Regions from separate parts of the Homo sapiens genome. Here regions 2 and 3 are each linked to region 1. Evidence: promoter capture Hi-C in 16 types of primary human blood cells and fetal thymus (Javierre and others, 2016). All regions are on one chromosome and are shown on one strand. Each heading gives the region's core, a stretch centred on a gene start or on the middle of the fragment in contact. The rest is flanking DNA. Distances are from core to core; before and after follow the strand shown.

What was found. The method cuts DNA at HindIII sites, captures the fragments that hold promoters and counts their contacts. A CHiCAGO score of 5 or more calls a contact.
Region 2: a contact is called between the fragment with the promoter of BMPR2 here and the fragment with the promoter of NBEAL1 in region 1, in 2 of 17 cell types (total B cells and neutrophils). The highest score is 5.9, in total B cells.
Region 3: the fragment with the promoter of CTLA4 here is called in contact with the fragment with the promoter of NBEAL1 in region 1 in 4 of 17 cell types (fetal thymus, naive CD8 T cells, total CD8 T cells and 1 more); the score reaches 9.3 in fetal thymus.

Annotation. Positions count from the first base shown.
Region 1 is chr2:203,012,633-203,016,158 of GRCh38, forward strand. It overlaps NBEAL1 (neurobeachin like 1), which reads left to right and starts at 2,243. Exons shown (of 56, transcript NM_001378026.1): 1 at 2,243-2,350; 2 at 3,524-3,526. RefSeq lists an enhancer at 1,923-2,476 and a silencer at 2,115-2,344. The HindIII fragment of the contact is 7,356 bases long and covers 1-3,526 here.
Region 2 is chr2:202,374,152-202,377,576 of GRCh38, forward strand. It overlaps BMPR2 (bone morphogenetic protein receptor type 2), which reads left to right and starts at 2,176. Exons shown (of 13, transcript NM_001204.7): 1 at 2,176-3,399. The coding sequence starts at 3,324. RefSeq lists enhancers at 1,024-1,183, 1,294-1,583, 2,738-3,425 and silencers at 1,674-1,723, 1,874-2,363, 2,494-2,553, 2,624-2,683. The HindIII fragment of the contact is 13,398 bases long and covers 1-3,425 here.
Region 3 is chr2:203,865,744-203,869,260 of GRCh38, forward strand. It overlaps CTLA4 (cytotoxic T-lymphocyte associated protein 4), which reads left to right and starts at 2,028. Exons shown (of 4, transcript NM_005214.5): 1 at 2,028-2,308. The coding sequence starts at 2,200. The HindIII fragment of the contact is 240 bases long and covers 1,895-2,134 here.

The sequences.
Region 1 (3,526 bases), core at 993-3,492:
GTCTCAAAACAAAAAAAAAAAAGAAAAAGATTTTGTGCAGACATCTGGGGAAAGAGATGTCCAGGTAGAAGGGTTAGCATGTGAAAATCCCTGAGGCTGGAGTGTGCTTTGTGCCTTTGAAAAGCAGCAAAGAAGTCATGTCTCAAGTAAGGTAAGAAAGGCCAGAATAGTTAGAGAAGTCAGAGAGGAAAATGTTGGAGGAAAATGAAGTAGGTCCTTGCAGGCCTTTTAAAGTGGAATGGGAAGCCATTGGAGGCTTTTTAGCAGAGAAGTGACATCTTACTTCCATGTTAAAAGATCTCTGTGTTTGCTATGTTGAGAATAATCCACGGATTTGGGGTAGAGTCACGGGCAGAGTCAGGGAAACAAGTTGGAAGGCTATTACAATAAACTAGAAAGTATTTTGTATAACTTAAACCATTTTAAAGACAGTAGCCACGGCTAGGTGCAATGGCTGACGCCTGGAGTCCCAGCACTTCAGAAGGCCGAGGCAGGAGGCTCCCTTGAGCCAAGGAGTTCGAGACCAGCCTGGGCGACATACGAAGCCCCTGCCTCTAATTTAAAAAAAAAAAAGGGAAAAGAAATAAAGATAGTGGTTACTACTACTATACCACCATCCATTTAAGGAAGAAAGTGTGGAGAGATGGTTAGGTATATTTTGGAGATATAGCTGAAAAGATTAGATTGGAAGTGAAGTACATGAGGAAGACAGCAAGCACACTTCCTAGGTTCTTGTACTGAGCAAGTACAAGAATAGAGTTGCTAAGTACTAAAATAGGGTATCCCAAAGGAAAAGCATATTTTCCCCCCAAAATTTTGACATATAAATTTCACATGCCTAATGGACAACCAAGGAGAAATGCTGAATGTAAAATGTAATTTCAGGATAAAAAATTGAAGGTGTAATTTGCAAGCAACTACTCTCAATTCTGCCATGGTAGAGTGAAAGCAGCTATAGGCAATACTAAAGGAATGGGCATGGTTGTGTTCCACTAAAATTTTAGGACACTGAAACTTGAATTTGAATTTCGTCTAATTTTCACATCTCAAAATATTGTTCTTTTGATTTTCGTTAAGCAAGTTGCAACCAGAATGGACTGCAAAGCCTATAACATTTATTGTCTGGCTCTTTTTATTTTATTTTTATTTTTTGAGACAGTGTCTCGCTCTGTCGCCCAGGCTGGAGTACAGTGGCGCCATCGGAGCTCACTGCAACCTTCACTCCCAGGTTCAAGCGATTCTCCCACCTTAGCTTCTAAGTAGCTGGAACTACAGGCGTGCACCACCACGCCAAGCTAATTAAAATTTCTTTTGCAGAGACAGGGTCTCATTCTGTTGCCCAGGCTGATCTCCTGGGTTCAAGGGATTCGCCCGCCTAGACCTCCCAAAATTCTGGAATTACAGGCGATAGCCACTGCGCCTCGTCTCTGGCTCTTCACAGGCAATTTGTGGATCCTTGTTACAAATGAAACAAGATGGGACATTAGTTGATCATTTTTGAAGTTGGGTGACGGTATACAGGGTTTCGTTATACTAGTTTACTTTAGAATATACTTGAAATCTTTCACAATAAAAAGTTGTGGAAATGTTTAACAAAGGTGAGTTATCTTACGCGTTTTTCTTTCCTTATACAAAAACCAAATCTCTCTGAAAGTTGTCTATAGTTAGTAAAGCCTTTTGCTTCTTTTCTGAAAAAGAAAAACCCTTTCGAAGTCTTTAGTGGTGGTAAAATAAGCCCTTTGGATATGACACTCGGTGACGACGAAAGCAGGCACAAAAGGAAAAGAGGAGTTTTTGGGGGGTGTCTGTGTGTGTTTTGTCTTTTTACATTACTCTAAATTCCCAGAACCAATCCCGGTTCTACAAATAAGTGAAACAAAATCCCCTTTAACACCGTAGGGTCTCACGCCCTCAGATGACTCACGGAAATGACGCCATCAGCGAAAAGCGGGGCGGGCGTAGACGTCAGCACGTCAGCCCTCCTCCATGTCCAGCTGAGGGAAGGCTCGTTTCAGTGCCGCGGCCGGCGCCCGCCAAGGGATGGGCAGCCAGAGCCTGTCGACTGCGGCTGCGCAGGTATGCTGGGGCGGGGCTTCAGGTCACCCCGCCCATCCCCAGCCTACGCGACCATTGAACAGCTGCCGCCCAACGGCTGGGTAAATCCTCAGCGGCCGAAATGATTAGCCCAGGGGGCAGCCCCGCCCCCTGCTCCTCCCGGCCTCTCGCCCCGCCCCCATGTCCCGCCCGCTCGTCTGCCTGGCTGCGGGGTGACACGGGGCTTCGCCTTGGGAAGGGGTCGAGGGAAGCAGTTAGACGGCTGCCGGGCGGCGGCTGCCGCGCGGCACACAATGTGAGCCCGGTGATGGGGAGCGGGCCGTTGGGAAGAGGGGGCGGCATGGCAAGAAATGGGAGGGCCCCGGTGCTTGGTGGTGGAGGGGCTGCAGAGTGAGGGGCGGCTTTGAGTGGGCTAGGCTGTCAGGGAGTGTTCCGATACTGTAGTGCAGGCTGGGATCGCGGTCGGGAGACGCCGAGTCCGCATTCCTCAGTTCTAGAGCTTCTCTTGGCAGCTCGGCACACCTTAAGTTTGCCTCTGTTTGGGTTGTCTTGGGATGTGAGGAGGAAATTAAAAGATTCCCCCAAACACTTGGATGCTTCTTTGGGAAGTTCCTCGCCGGTGTGTGCGTGCCCACTTCTCTTGGATGGAAAGGTGGAGAGGCCAGGTGGGCGGGTGGACTTCCACTCTCCGAGGATTGTTAGAACAAACGAACTGGGAATTCCTCCCCCGCCCCCACGCCCTGCCCTGCAACACAGCAAACAGTCCCAACTACTCCACCCCCACCCCACCCCAGACGGAGTCTTGCTCTGTCGCCCAGACTGGAGTGCAGTGGCGTGATCTGGGCTCACTGCAGCCTCTGCCTCCCGGGTTCAAGCAATTCTCCTGCCTCAGCCTCCTGAGTAGCTGGGATTACAGGTGCCCGCCACCACGCCCGGCTAATTTTTTGTATTTCTTTAGTAGAGACAGGGGTTCACTGTGTTGGCCAGGCTGGTCTCGAACTCCTGACCTCAGGTGATTCACGCACTTGGGCCTCCCAAAGTGCTGGGATTACAGGCGTGAGCCACCGCGCCTGGCCCCAACAACTTTGAAGAGGAGACCAGAACAAGAACATTCTAAGAGCTTTGATGTATTTGAAATGTCTGAGATGTGGGCCTTTTCCTTGTATCTGTACAAAAGGTATGAGTGGGAAGGGAGTCTTGCTCCTTATTCTCACTGGACGCATTCTTGGTTATGAACATGTACCCATCTCTAGGAGTCTGTCTGCCCTAGAGGATTCTATGGTGGACATACTGTGTTAGCTGTGATGTTTTCCTGAAACACAAGTTTCTATGAAATCTAATCAGTCCATGTGAAAGTATAGCGGGTTGTTTGTGGGAAGTGAAGAAGATACATCTTTAGTTTTTGATAAGTCTAGATTTTTTAGTATGGCCTCTTTTTCTAACCTGTGGATGTTTTTCTCTTTCACAGATT
Region 2 (3,425 bases), core at 926-3,425, 640 kb before region 1:
GATAAGGGGGAACTACAAAAAGGACACTTAATGTTTCTTGGAAAAAATCTTAAGCAAATAAAAATTGAATGATGAAGTACTTGATCTCAATTTGAGGAAGATAAAAGTGTACTACGAATTAATAAACTTTAAACTTTCTGCACCTCTAACATACTAAAATCCAATTTCTCTGAGTGCTAGAAACTCTCAGTTCTTGAAAGACAAATGGTAAAACAATACCGTTTCTAATTTAGACCTTTTGGGCAAAACAAAATACAGTAATAAAGCTATAAAGAATCGGTCGGGGGCGGTGGCTCACGTCTGTAATCCCAGCACTTTGGGAGGTCGAGACGGGCGGATCACGTGAGGTCAGGAGTTCGAGACCAGCCTGGCAAACATGGTGAAACCCTGTCTCCACTAAAAATACAAAAATTAGCCGGGCGTGATGGCGCCGCCTGTAATCTCAGCTACTCGGGAGGTTCAGGCCGGAGAATTGCTTGAACCTGGGAGGTGGAGGTTGCAGTGAGTCGAGATCGCGCCACTGCACCGCAGCCTGGTCGACAGAGCAAGACTCCGCCTCAATAAATAAATAAATAAATAAATAAAACCTAAATAAATAAAGCTAATGAATCAAAGCATATGCTCTTCGTCTTTTTAAGGGATTTTACTAGGTAGAATTTTTTTTTCTCTGTCTAAAGGGTAAACAGCATAAACATATTTCAACTAAAAAGAGTCTTAGAATCCGGGGTTGGTATTGCTACAACCCCTAATTATGGAAGATGTTTAGTATAACAGAACCAGTTTAAGGAATGTGGAGATTTATTTACATCAAATTCAGATAAAGAGGTAACAGCGGACTAGAAGAAGCAAGCAGAGCATGACTTAAGGAGTCTATCTATGACTGTATCTGTGGAACTGCCCTTAGCCACAATGAAAGACCAGCAAAACCAGCCTTCAGCATAACCCTCCTGCCTGGTAGGAGATGGGAAGGCCAGACTTCACCCCTCAAGATCGCCCTCCCACGCGCATTTTCCACCTCGCAGCTAAGAATTCAGTCCAGACTTCCGATCATGGCGCCACGCACGTCACCTTCTCCCCTCGCCGCCAGCAAAATCCCACCCACGTCGGCTGACCCCGCAGCGGGGTGTAAGGGCGGGAGGGATCCCGTCTCCTATACTGGTCGCTTGTACAAACCAGATCCAAAAAACGCACTACACAAATCCTTGGAAACTGCGGTACCAACGGGATCTTCTCAATTCCTTGAGTGCAAAATGATCCCACTCTCTATCCCGACACAACTCTAACTCCATTTTCCTTTCACGTGCCCTAAAAAGCCCTCAAGGCCCCCAGCCTTGGTGAATCCAGGCCCTCTCTCGGGGTGGGCACCGCGCTGTACGGACAGACGCGCGCACGCAGCGGGACGATTTATAGAATTAAAAGTCTTTTTTTTTTTTCTGGCTTCGCATCCTTGCAAATACTCAATATTCCTGTCAACTAAGAAGGCTAAGGGAATGGGCGGTTGAGGAAAGCAGGACGTCGATTACAGCGAACACATCAAAGGGGTGGTCTTTCCAATTCCGGCTTTTGTTTGAGTCAGAGGGGAGCCTGAGGAGGCCAAGGTCTCCGGTTCTGGGAAAGGCGGGTCCATCCGGATTCTTTGGGCTGCGGAGAGGGAGGTTCCAGCCCCGTGAAACAACAGAGGGCAGTTCTGCCCCTCGAGGCTTTCCTCCGAGAGTACTGAGACGGAGACGCCTCAGTCGGGAGAAATCCCGGAACTCGGAGGAGTCTGCTGAACGCCGAACAAAAGGATGTGGCCGTCGTCTCTTAAACAAATACGCGAATCCCAAGCCATGCACATTTGGAAGGCATGTGTATGTGTGTGAAGGAGAAAGGCCACCGCTGCCCACCGCAGCCCCACCCAGCCCTCGGCCATTCACCGGAGAGACGCGCTGCGGTGGGGCCTCGGAGCCCTCAGCCAGCCCCGAACGAGGGGCGGGGCCGGGCGGGGCCGTGAGCGCGCAGGCGCAGTGCGGGCTTCATCCCGCCGCCGGCGCCGCCGCCGCCGCCGCCCGCTCTGCACCACAGGCTAGAGACAGACAGGGCCGGGAAGAGCCGGAGACTGAGGAGGAGGCGGAGGCGGCGGCGGAGGCGGGGCGACTCCGGTGACCGGGAGCGCCGCAGACTGGCAGCTGCGGCGACTCCCCCCTTTGTGTCTGGTCTGCTCGGAGCCACTGGAAGTGCCTCCCGGAGGGACGCAGGGTGTCTCGCCGCCTCCCTGCCCACCCCCTTCCCCGGCTACCTTCATCCGCCCTCCCGCCGCCCCCCGCCCTCGGTCCGCGACGCCCGAGTTCCGTCAGGAGCCCAGAGCTGCGGGAGAACGAGGCGGCGGCGGCGGCGGCGGCGGCGGCGGCGGCGGCAGCAGCAGCGGCTTCCTCGGGGGGTTGTGATTCGCTCACAGGAGCCATTGACGGGAGAAGAGGAGGCTTTCTTGGTGGAATTTACCTCAGGCAAGATCGAGCCGCAGGAATAAAAAGCGAGGAAGGGAAGGGAGCGCCGCCGGGAGGACTAGAAGGGGCAGCCTCTCACACCCACTCCGCCTGCCGTCTCGGGGAGCCCGGACCGGGGCCGCGACCGCGACCCCTCCCCTCCCCCGCTCCTACCTCTCCTCAGCCTTCGCCAGGGCCTCCCCAACCCTCTCACGGTTGTTCTGCGAAGGCGTGGGGACTGTGAGCTTGTCCATGGAGGCAGGCACCTTTTTTGATCCAGTCAAGGAAGAGGATTTGTTGTTTTCGAAATCAGAGTGAAGGAAGCACCGAAGCGAAACTTAAGGAATCCTGCCTTCCCGGAGCCGCGGGCGATGCGACTAGGGCTGCCGGGCGCCGCCGCCGCCCGTCCGGCTTCGTCCTTCCCGGCAGTCGGGAACTAGTTCTGACCCTCGCCCCCCGACCCCGGATCGAATCCCCGCCCTCCGCACCCTGGATATGTTTTCTCCCAGACCTGGATATTTTTTTGATATCGTGAAACTACGAGGGAAATAATTTGGGGGATTTCTTCTTGGCTCCCTGCTTTCCCCACAGACATGCCTTCCGTTTGGAGGGCCGCGGCACCCCGTCCGAGGCGAAGGAACCCCCCCAGCCGCGAGGGAGAGAAATGAAGGGAATTTCTGCAGCGGCATGAAAGCTCTGCAGCTAGGTCCTCTCATCAGCCATTTGTCCTTTCAAACTGTATTGTGATACGGGCAGGATCAGTCCACGGGAGAGAAGACGAGCCTCCCGGCTGTTTCTCCGCCGGTCTACTTCCCATATTTCTTTTCTTTGCCCTCCTGATTCTTGGCTGGCCCAGGGATGACTTCCTCGCTGCAGCGGCCCTGGCGGGTGCCCTGGCTACCATGGACCATCCTGCTGGTCAGCACTGCGGCTGGTGAGTAGCTCCGGCCGGCACGTCCC
Region 3 (3,517 bases), core at 778-3,277, 850 kb after region 1:
CCGTTTGCAAATCATAACATATTTACTATTTTGCCCCCTTCAGAAAGCTTTCCAAATCCTGGTGCCTGGCGTATTCCAATAGTCTTCTTCCCAGTCTTCCTGGTTACATTTCTCCCTGAACCCATCCTCCCCATCCCTAAAATTTCCCCCAAATGTGAACTCAGTCATACCAGTTTGCTCCTTATGTTTCATTGGCCCTTGCTGCTAAGAGCATCCGCTTGCACCTTCTGCTCATCCCCAGACAAGCTTTGTCCTGTGACCATAATGAACTCTTCATGCCGTTTCCAACTTTAGCCCATGTTATTCTTCTTGTCTGAATATCCACCCTTTTCTCTGTTCTCAATAATAAGTTCAGGCTTTTCGTCTTCTGAGAAGCCCTTTCTGACTTCCACAGGCTGAACCACTGGCTTCTGCTCCTCTACATAATACTTCAATTCCAGCATTGATCTCACTCTATCATGATCATGGGTTTAGCTGTCTGTCCCTGCCACTGCTGTGTGTTCCTCTTGAGGGCAGGAACATTTGTTTTTCACTTTTTAAAAAACCTCTGTTGCCCAGTCTGGCATTAGGAAGTGCCCATTAGGTTGTTATTGCTTGTTGGCGCTTGAGCTGGGGCTTGAAGGTTTCTATAATGTGTAGCAGTGTATAGAAAACAGGCAGGTCAGAAAAGGCTTCTGTGCATCACACCAACATGGCACATGTATACATATGTAACAAATCTGCATGTTGTGCACATGTACCCTAAAACTTAAAGTATAATAATAATAAAATTTTAAAAAAAAAAAGAAGAGGCTTCCTGGAGGAGATGACAGCTGAGCTAAGTCCTGGAGGATGAGAAGGAGTATAAAATAAGATAATAGGAGAAAAAAGGCAGTAGGAACAGCATGGGTAAAGGTGATGAGGCCTGAAAGAGGCACGTGGAAGGAAAGACAAATGCAGGAAGGGGGAATGGGAGGGAATGCTGGGGTACAGGCCAAAGAGGGAGGCATTTGGTGAGTATTCTGCAGAGTCTCCTCTGCTGTGCTGAGGTGTGGACAATGGGAAACCATGGACGGACTGGAGTAGGCAAATGTCATATTCCCTGTTACAACTGTCTGTTTGCATGTCAGCCTTCTAGAAGCCCCTTAAGGTATCAACTATGTTTTTGTTTTGTCATCATTCAATCCTAAGTGCACAGAATTCCGGGCATATTACAGGTTCCCCATGAATGTTTCTTTCTTTATTAAAATGTATGAAAACTCTCCAGATTTAAGGAAGGTCCTCAATGTTTCAAATTCTTTTTGTTAGATCATTGGTCCTGTCTACAGCTGTCACAAATTTAAGGACTCTGGTTATATTTAATCTTCACTTTTGAATTTTCTGCTTGAAAAATTTGTATTAGAAAAAAAAGTCTATCCTTTTATGGACGGCTCTAATCTCTTGAATCATTTGGGTTGGCTTTTCTTTGGACCTTCTTCAACTCTGTTTTGTCTCTGTTGAGTTAAGGCTTTTAAGAACACCTGAATTCTTTCCTTCTGCAAAACCAGAGGCAGCTTCTTTTCCGCCTATTTTCAGTTTATTTCTTGTGATTTTAGTTTTTTTCTCTTAACCAAATGCTAAATGGATTTAGGAGAAATAAACTTATTTGTAAAGCTGTCAAGGGACCATTAGAAGGATGGTGCTTCACAGATAGAATACAGTTTTTATTAATGATGCCTAGACAAATCCTGCCATTAGCCCAAGGGCTCAGAAAGTTAGCAGCCTAGTAGTTTTGGAGTTGTCAATGAAATGAATTGGACTGGATGGTTAAGGATGCCCAGAAGATTGAATAAAATTGGGATTTAGGAGGACCCTTGTACTCCAGGAAATTCTCCAAGTCTCCACTTAGTTATCCAGATCCTCAAAGTGAACATGAAGCTTCAGTTTCAAATTGAATACATTTTCCATCCATGGATTGGCTTGTTTTGTTCAGTTGAGTGCTTGAGGTTGTCTTTTCGACGTAACAGCTAAACCCACGGCTTCCTTTCTCGTAAAACCAAAACAAAAAGGCTTTCTATTCAAGTGCCTTCTGTGTGTGCACATGTGTAATACATATCTGGGATCAAAGCTATCTATATAAAGTCCTTGATTCTGTGTGGGTTCAAACACATTTCAAAGCTTCAGGATCCTGAAAGGTTTTGCTCTACTTCCTGAAGACCTGAACACCGCTCCCATAAAGCCATGGCTTGCCTTGGATTTCAGCGGCACAAGGCTCAGCTGAACCTGGCTACCAGGACCTGGCCCTGCACTCTCCTGTTTTTTCTTCTCTTCATCCCTGTCTTCTGCAAAGGTGAGTGAGACTTTTGGAGCATGAAGATGGAGGAGGTGTTTCTCCTACCTGGGTTTCATTTGTTTCAGCAGTCAAAGGCAGTGATTTATAGCAAAGCCAGAAGTTAAAGGTAAAACTCCAATCTGGCTTGGCTGGCTCTGTATTCCAGGGCCAGCAGGGAGCAGTTGGGCGGCAGCAAATAAGGCAAAGAGATAGCTCAGAACAGAGCGCCAGGTATTTAGTAGGGGCTTCATGAATGCATGTGAGTTGGTTTAGTAGAGAGACACAGGCAATTTCAGACCCTTCTATGAGACTGGAAGTGATTTAAGAGGGAAAGGATAGCCATAGTCCTGAATACATTTGAGCTGGGTTTCAGGATGAGCTCACAAGTTCCTTTAAAAAAAATTGACTTAAGCAAATCCTGGGAAGAGTTTTTTTGCTATACAATTCAAGGTTTTAAGGTCCTCGGATTCATATACTTTATAAATGAATTAGCCAGCTTGTTTAAAATGTAGGGAAATTGTGGGAAGAATGCCTTCTTTACTTAATTCAAGGTTTTAAGGTTCTCTTAATCAATTCTACTAGCTAATTAGCCAATTATTTAAAAATAAAAGTTTGAAATTGCCAAAAAAAAAAGACAAGGAAAAGGAAAGAAAGAAAGCCACCAGTCTGTTTGGCATACAATACTTAATTGTTGCCTGACCTACGTGTGGGTTTCAGATGCAGATCCTCAGTTTTCAGCTCTTCAGAGACTGACACCAGGTTTGTTACACGGCTTAAAATGATGAGTATATCCATTGAATCTCAACCTTATCTCTCTCTAGACCTTCTTGGTTAAGAAACCATGTAGTTTGTATGAAGTAGGTACTCAAAAGATATTTGATGATTTAATTTTTACTGGAGAAGAAATATTCATATATGTTTTCTTATTTTTACATGTTTTAAATATGTAAAGATTAAATAAACACTCTTAGAAGTATTTAAATTTCCTAAAGTAAATTTATCTCAACCAGTAACAGGACCCTCCCAATACTGGAAAGTTGAGTGTGACCGCATTTAGTGGTGATGAGTGTGAGCTTGCTTGGGGAGAGGGCAGGACATTTAGGATTTCTTAAGCTTAGAGTCAATACAATAAAGATTATTGAGTGCTCACTTGGGTGGGCTATAATCACTGCTCACAGGAGTTCATGAACCACAAGTAAAAGAGTGAGGAGATATGATTAGCTCACA